Regions from separate parts of the Homo sapiens genome. Here all the other regions are linked to region 1. Evidence: promoter capture Hi-C in human tissues and cell types (Jung and others, 2019). All regions are on one chromosome and are shown on one strand. The core of a region is centred on a gene start or on the middle of the fragment in contact, and the rest is flanking DNA. Distances in the headings are between cores, read along the strand shown.

Region 1 (2,700 bases), core at 6-2,505:
ACACCCAGTGGCTCATATTTAACTTCCCCCAGCTTCCCAATTCAAACTGGGGGGAAAAAAACTAAATCATTGGGAGTTACTTGCCAACTTGGAAGTTGATATTTCTTTACTTTTTCCATTCTAAGACTTTAAGTTCTCTGGCATGAGTTTATCTGCAATCATAAACTAAACAATTACCTAAACCCACCCCACCAATCCCAACCGTAACAGGCCACTGCCAACTAATTGCCAATATTTGCCCCTCCCCTTTAATAAAACTTTTAAGAAGTCACATTATTGGAAAACTTAACTTCAACATTTGGCCTACTCAAGCTCTTCTGAAGTTCTCCTGAGATGACTGAATATGAACCAAAGCTGCACTGTGCTGTACTTTTCAGCTTCAACTGGGAATACTCTTCCAAGGATAAAAGCAGCTCCAGTCCCTGAAGGTGTTCGTGCCAACAGCACAGCGGTACACTCCTTCTCTAACCCAGTTTGTCAATAGTACTATAGCATCTGTGGAAAATCTTAGAAAAAAACATTTTCTCCCCCACCCTCTCTCTTCCCTGTTAAGACCATCCCAAAATGCTTCAAGTAAAAAATAACAAGTTTAAGGGGTTAAGCACTTTTAAAGTCTGATTAAGGGGGTGGGGGGAAAAAAGAGTAACTACCAGCCATTTCTCCAATGGACATCTCTTCCACAGACCTCAACGTGAGAACTGCTCTAGTTTCTATAAACTGTAAACCTGTGGTGGTCTGATTATCCTGATATTGGATTTTCTTGTTTTCTGTTACACCTTGAGTCATTTGCCTTTAGGATTCTAGACAGACCTAAGGGAAAAAGAACTGAAAACATATTTTGCCCCCACCCCCACAAAAAAAAATACTGAAAACTCCCCCCCGCCTCAGTTACACATCCAAACTCTACATTTACAAAACGAATTCAGGGTGAGGAAGTAAAAACAGGTCATCTATTCACAAAACTGAAATACTTCATTACCCCAACTAAACATACAAACTGCTTACAGATTTGCTGAAATTGTCTCAATTTGGCTATCAAATTCATTTGGTTTTCCTCAAATTCGTGTAAAAAAAAAAAACCCACAAACTTGCCATCTACTATTTCTCCAGGACTTGGCAGTCTGCCCTCAAAAGCTTCAGACAAGATTCATGAGTATAAGCCTGAAAAAGAGAAACCTACAACACCCGGAAATCGGCCTACGTCCCCATATAAATCCCTTTACACCTCAGTACGAAACTCCCCCATTATATTAGAAAATAAATAAAAGGTTACCATAAGTAAGTTCCAGAAAAACAACATATTGCCGACCTCACGGATTTTTACCAACCACTCGCTTTCCCTGTGGCCTTGGCACACTGGCATGCTGGTCTAGGATCCTCTACGCACAACGCCTGCTCGCCTCCTCCGTGTGGTTGCCAAGCCAAGCCGCCTGCTACCTTCATCACCAAATTGCACTCGCTCCTTCCTGGAATCCTTTTTCCTAGCTTCACCACCAAATCGTTAGCGCTCCTTCCTTCTTCCTAGCTTCCTTCACCAAATCGCACTGGCTCCTGGACTCTTTTCCTATCTTCACCACGAACTGCTGCTTGCTCGCTTGCTCCTCAGTCCTAGCTTCATCAAACACTGGTTCCTGGAATCCTGTCTGCTGCTGTCTTCCTAGATTCACTGAATCCACTTCTGTGTAGCACCTGGGTCAGCTGTCAATTAATGCTAGTCCTCAGGATTTAAAAAATAATCTTAACTCAAAGTCCAATGCAAAAACATTAAGTTGGTAATTACTCTTGATCTTGAATTACTTCCGTTACGAAAGTCCTTCACATTTTTCAAACTAAGCTACTATATTTAAGGCCTTCCAAATTCTTCTAACTCTTCCAAAAGCCTTCTGCCTTAGTTTTTTTTAAATTACACCAGTCCTTTTAGTAGCTTTTTGATGTGATTTTTAACCAACTTCCCCTTCTAGCTTCAAGTATTCTTCTAAATTGGTTCTGGTCTACGTAAACACCCTCATCTTCTCAAGCTTTACCTTCTAACTTCTGCACCACCAGAAATTAAATTGATGGGCTTTTAAAATAAATTGGTTACCAATAATTTCCTCATTTTTTCAGTGCTATTTTATCCAATTTTTGGCTTTATATTTTTCTATCTTCTATACTTCTCCAATACTTGTCTTAGCTTGTTTTTCATTTTCTATCTGAAACTCTTGACAATATTTTCATTTTCTATCTTGTTTCTATCTTCCAATTTTCTTCTAAGTTTGTACATTTTGCCCTTAGCTTTTTGTTTCCTAGCTTGTCTTTTTTCTTCTGCTTCCTACTTTTCAGGTTTAAATTTATCTTTTTTCTTCTAAAAGTATGTTTTTATCTTCTAATTTCCCTATCTTCTCTATTCTTTTCTTCGCCTTCCCGTACTTCTGTCTTCCAGTTTTCCACTTCAAACTTCTATCTTCTCCAAATTGTTTCATCCTACCACTCCCAATTAATCTTTCCATTTTCGTCTGCGTTTAGTAAATGCGTTAACTAGGCTTTAAATGACGCAATTCTCCCTGCGTCATGGATTTCAAGGTCTTTTAATCACCTTCGGTTTAATCTCTTTTTAAAAGATCGCCTTCAAATTATTTTAATCACCTACAACTTTTAAACTAAACTTTAAGCTGTTTAAGTCACCTTCATTTTAATCTAAAAGCATTGCCCTTCTATTGG
Region 2 (2,700 bases), core at 55-2,554, 280 kb before region 1:
GTGGGAGTTATCACTCCCATTTTATAGATGGGGAAACTGAGGCACCTAGAGGGAAGTAGTTTGGGGCTGCTGCCTGTGAGTCAACTGTGGAGCCAGGGCCTAGAGGAGCCGGGACCGGGCCTTCTGGCTGGACCTGTCCCTCCGAGTGGGTCTCTATCTCTCCATCCCCAAGGGCACCCAGACAGCCTCCTTTTTGGCACTCTCCACCCCTCAACTCTCCACCACCTCCCATCTGGAGCAGGATGGGGTAGGGAGAGGCCAGCTGGCACTGGCTTGCATGGGGGCTCAGGCCTGTTTCATCTTCAAAGCGGCTAATTGGAGCCAGAGGGGTGGTGAGGTTTGGGCGCCGGCGGTTCTGTGCCCTGGAAACCGGTGGTCTGTGGGGCACCTGCAACCTGGGCCTCTGGCCTGGGAGAGACCGCCGCCCAGACCCCCGAATGCCCCCAAACAGCCAGAATCCAGCCCACTGAAGTCTGGAGTGCTGGGTTCCGGCCCGGCTTGGCCCCAGATCTCGGTTGGCAAGGCCGCCCTCCTCCTGGGCCTGTTTTCCCCATCGCTAGGCATGCCTCGAGCCCCGTGACCGGCCAGGCCCTGACAGCCCGCACTTCCCGAGTATGGATCCCGTTGTTTTCGACTTAGGGCCCTGCCCCGCCCTCGCCGTCACGACCCCTGCGGGCCGCCAGCGCGGCCTCGGGCAAACAAAGGTCAGAAGCTCCTGGCTGGCCGCAACCGCGGCGCCGGCTCCTCGCCCCCAAGCCGAGCGGGCTGGGGGCCCGGGCAGGCGTCAGGGAAGCGAAGCCAAGCCCTGCGGCGCCCGCCGGACCGGTTCAGCTGGGGCGCTTTTCCTGCGGGCGCCCTGCGACCGCACCTTGGTCACCCCCAGGGGCCACTCCGGGAGCCCCAGGACCCGCACCCACGCCCCCCGGGGCCGCGCGTCTGGCGCAGGGTGCGGTGTGCCCGGGCGCCGGCGGGGGGCGCGCTGGCTGCCGCCCTGCGCGGCTTGGCGGGCGCTGGTGGGACCGGGCCGCTGTCCGCCGAGGGCCGCGGGATCGCAGCCCTGCGCCGCGGTACCCGGCATCTGGGGCCCAGGCCCACCCCGCTCCGCCACCCCTACCCACTCCCCTCCGCCTTTCCTGCCCCGGCCTGCGGCGGTTTCGGGGAAGGGGGCCTGCGCGGCGGGACAGTTAGTCAGCCCCCGCGAAACCTGCGAGTCGACACCTGCGGGAGGCGGTGGCCCCGTTACGCCCCGCCCCTCCCCGCCCGGACTCGGCCGCCCCCGCGCCGCGCCCCGCCCCGCGCCGCCAGCCCGGAAGGAGCCGGCCGGCCTGAGTGCCCGCGGCGGCTGAGTCAGGCGGCGAGCGCGGCCCGTTACCGCCGGCGCCGGGGGCCGGGGTGGCGCTGTGGTTTCGGTGCGGGCCGCGGGCGGGAGGGAGGCGGCCTAACGAGCTCTCGGCACGCACCCTCCCCCGCCCTGCTCCTGTCCTGTCCCGCGAGGGCCCCGGCGCCCAGCTCTGGCGTCGGCCCCGAGAGCCCTGGTCTCACCGTGGGAGCCGGGCGCGGGTCCCGCCGGCATCTGCGCGGCGTCTGGGGGTGACCGCAGCCCCTCGGGGTCGGCAGCGGGCCCCGCGCTCCCGGTGGCTGCGGCCTGAGGGTCCCTCTTCCCTGCGCAGGGGCCCGCGCGCCTCACCATGGGGCCCCTGAGCCGGGACGCCTGGGCCCAGCGCTTGGGGGCCTTCCGGGCCAGCCCGTCTGCCTTCATGGCAGGTCCCGAGGGGGAGGATTTGGGTCGCGACCTGCTGAGCGACCTGAGAAGTGAGAAGCTGAGCGAACAGACCAAGGTAGGCCCCCACGCGTCCCCTGCGCCGTTCCGCAGGGTCACCCCAGCCCGCCGCGTCATGAACCTCATCTTCGTGATTCCCTCCTAATCCCCCATCCAGGTTTCCCTGCTGGCCCTGAGCATGGAGTACCCTGCGCAGCTGTGGCCCGACGCCTCTGCGGCCGAAGTGGCCGCCACCTCCCTGTTGGACACCTTGGTCCTCCTACCCCCGCGGCCCTCAGCTCTCCGTCGGCCACTGCTGCTGGCGGCCACCACTGCCCTGGCGGCGGGCGGCGCGCTGGGCCCCACCTCGGGCGCCTCCTGCCGGCTCCTGCCCCTACTGCTCGGCCTGGCCGCGGGTAGCGATCTGGGGCGAGGCTTTGTCCCCGCCTCGGAACAGCGCCCCTTGCAGGCCACGGCCTGCGAGTGCCTGCGAGAGCTAGAGAGCTGCAAGCCCGGGCTGCTGGGGGGCTCCCTGGGGTTGCTGCGGGGCCTGCTGGGGCAGGAAGGCCCTGTCCAGCCACTCAGCCTGTTGCTGGCCCTCGCTTTGCGCAACACCTTGGTGCTCCAGTCCCGGGTTGGGGCTGGCCTGGGGGGACTGCTCACGGATAAGGTCTCCCCAACTGGGGGTGGTCCCTGGGATTGGACACTAGTGGAGGAGGGCGATGGACGCCTTCAGCCCCAGGCACCCAGCTGGCCGGCAGCTGAGGAGGGAGAGGGGGAGCGTAGCCTTACAGCACGAGAGCACAGCCCTGAGGAGGCGCGGGAGCTGCGGGCTGCGGTGATCCAGCTTCTGGACACCTCCTATCTGCTCACTCCTGTGGCCCAGGCCCAGCTCCTGTGGCTGCTGGGCTGGGCCCTGCGGGGTCTGCAGGGACAGCCAC
Region 3 (2,700 bases), core at 77-2,576, 330 kb before region 1:
GTAAGAGTGACAGTGACGGGTCCCTTTCCATCTGTAAGGACAAAGGCAAAACCCTGCCTCCCTTGGCATCCTCATCAGTCCGCACACAGGTGCCACAGAGGCTCCCCACTCCCTTGCTCAAGTCTCCTTTCTCTCACTTGCGCAGACACACACATACACACAGAGACACATGGGCACATACACACACACAGACACACGAGACAAACACAGACACACGCACACACAGACACACATAGAAACACACACAGATACACAGACACACACAAACACACAGGCACAGAGAAACACACACACAGACACACACAACGACATACACAGATCATACACAGGCACACAGACACACACAGATGCACACACAGACACACTGACATAGACACACACAGATATACAAAGACACACGGATACAGACACACACAGACACATGCAAACACACACACAGACCCAGAAATACACAGACACACACACACAGACACACGCAGACCATACACACACACAGAGACACACACACACAGACATAAAGATGCACGCAGACCATACATAGACACAGAGACAGACACACACTCAGACACAAAGAGACACAGACCTGCGCAGACACACACAGGCACATGCGTGCACACACAGATACACACAGAGACACACACAGATGCATACATGCACACATGCAGACCATACACACAGACAGACACAGACACAAAGACACACGCAGACCATACACAGACACAGACACACAGACACACACACACAGACATGCACAGACACACACAGAGACAGACACAGACATGCACGCACAAACACCCACATGGACGCATACGTGCACACACACAGACACACACAGGCCATACACACACACACAGAGACACGGAGACACACAGACACACACACAGATACACAGAGACACACAAAGACACAGACACACACTGAGACACACACAGACACACAGACACACAGAGACACAAATACAGACATACACAGATACACACACACACAGACATATGCAGGCACATCGACATACACACAGACACACAGAGAAACAGACACATGCAGACTATACACACACAGACACACACAGAAACACACAGAGGCAGACCACACACACACAGACACACACACACCACCGCATGATTGGGCATCACGGGCTTTCATGGAGTGAGGGGAGGCTGGGGTGGGGGTCTTCATCCTTTCTCTACCTTGCCCTCCTTCCCAACCTCCGCATACGTCTCCATCGCTCTCCTGGGCTTCAGCGTCCGGCCACTGCCCGCGTGCTCCCGCAGGTCGTCCCCGTAACTCGCCCGAGGAACTGACCGAGTGAGGATGCTCTCAGCTGACGGGGACGCTCTCCCCCGCCCGGCCAAGGAGTCGCCTGGAGTCGGGGGCGGTTCCCACCGCGTTTCCCTCAGCCACGCCTTTCGATTGGGTAGCGGGGCACCGCGCGTGACGCCATTGGCTGCATTGTCTGTCGTTCCTGTCCCAGGCCCCAGCTTTTAAGGGACACGCGGCACGGAGAGTGGGCCGGTGATAGGCGACAGTGTGGGAGCTGGGGTCAGAGTTCATAGGGTCGCAGAGGCCGCGTGCCGCGTCTCCCTCCAGTCCCCGGGGGACTGACCCCCACAACAACCCCGTGCCGCCGTTCCGGGCCCCTCCTTCCAACGGCCACGTGCGGCCTGCGCGTGCGCACTCGCCCAGTTTGGCGCCCACCAGGCAGTGGGGAAGGGGAAGGGGAAGGGGAAGAGGGTGAGGGTGGCAGGGTGGGGACAGGGAATGGGAAGCAGTGGTGGGGATGTGGGTGGTGGACCAGGGGCGAGGGCAGGGGACAATGTCTGTGGAGAAGGGGGGTCTGTTTAGGTTTCCGCTCTTGGACGGGAGGGAGCGGCGGGGTAAGCAGCCTAGGAGGACTAGGGAGCTCCACAAGTCCCGCGGCCAGGGCGCCCCAAGCGAGGCCGGGGTCCGCGAACGGTCGCCACTGGAGCGGGGCTGCAAGGGGGTGCCGATGCTGCGAGAGAAAACCTGGGGACCTTGGAACGGGCTCATGGTAATTGGGAAGAGAGTGGAGCTCCTGACTAGAAACACTCGAAAGCCGAAGCTGGAGTCTGAGTACTGGAGACTGGAAGATGTGGAAAAGACGGTCTTGAAAGGGAAGTCAGGCCCGAGTCAGGAAAGGATGGATGTGAAGCTGCTATACCGTGGAGCAAGTGCATCACAAGCTTCAGCAGATTTGGGGAAAGACAGCCCAAGGGGTATTTGGGGAAAGCAAGAGGTCAAACACGAAATAAAGGCTAAATCTAAGAGTGCAGGGATGACAGCAGGGCCTATGAAGGGGTCTGGGTTTGAAGAGAGGTTGAGGTCTGCTGGGGAGAAGGTAGGGACCAGTGGAGAGGACTTGAGATCCAATGGATATAAACTGGGACAGGATGAGAAGGGGTTGAGGTCTAGTGTAGACAAGATGAGATCAAGTGTAGAGAAGCTGAGGTCTACTAGTGAGAAGCTGGTGTGCAGGGGAGAGAAGCAGGGGTCCAGTGGAGTGAAGCTGAGGTCCAGTGGCAGAAAGCTGAGATCAAGTGGAGAGAATTTGAGATCAAGTAGAGAGAAGCTGAGATGGAGTGGAGAGAAGCTGGGAACTAGTGGAGAGAAGCTGGGAACCAGTGATGAGAAGCTGAGGTTGAGTGGAGAGATGCTGAGATCAATCAGAGAGAAGCTGAGGTT

Evidence for each region. The method cuts DNA at HindIII sites, captures the fragments that hold promoters and counts their contacts. A contact is called where the count stands out against the background at its distance.
Region 2: a contact is called between the fragment with the promoter of AP5B1 here and a fragment that was not itself captured in region 1, in 1 of the 25 tissues and cell types used here (spleen).
Region 3: the fragment with the promoter of SNX32 here is called in contact with a fragment that was not itself captured in region 1 in 1 of the 25 tissues and cell types used here (hippocampus).

The regions. Positions count from the first base shown.
Region 1 is chr11:65,499,388-65,502,087 of GRCh38, reverse strand. MALAT1 (metastasis associated lung adenocarcinoma transcript 1) reads right to left here. Exons shown (of 1, transcript NR_002819.5): 1 at 1-2,700. It also overlaps TALAM1. Among named protein-coding and RNA genes, the nearest start is that of MALAT1, 1.7 kb to the right of the region's middle. RefSeq lists an enhancer at 1,520-1,649. The HindIII fragment of the contact is 4,315 bases long and covers 1-2,700 here.
Region 2 is chr11:65,779,580-65,782,279 of GRCh38, reverse strand. It overlaps AP5B1 (adaptor related protein complex 5 subunit beta 1), which reads left to right and starts at 1,304. Exons shown (of 2, transcript NM_138368.5): 1 at 1,304-1,838; 2 at 1,938-2,700. The coding sequence starts at 1,689. RefSeq lists enhancers at 1-590, 1,320-2,222 and silencers at 851-1,590, 1,631-1,810, 1,961-2,230. The HindIII fragment of the contact is 21,769 bases long and covers 1-2,700 here.
Region 3 is chr11:65,832,589-65,835,288 of GRCh38, reverse strand. SNX32 (sorting nexin 32) reads right to left here and starts at 1,326. Exons shown (of 13, transcript NM_152760.3): 1 at 1,188-1,326. The coding sequence starts at 1,223. LOC124902693 reads left to right here and starts at 1,490. Exons shown (of 7, transcript XM_047427980.1): 1 at 1,490-2,700. The coding sequence starts at 1,778. RefSeq lists an enhancer at 1,245-1,334 and silencers at 1,259-1,471, 1,645-1,774. The HindIII fragment of the contact is 13,089 bases long and covers 1-2,700 here.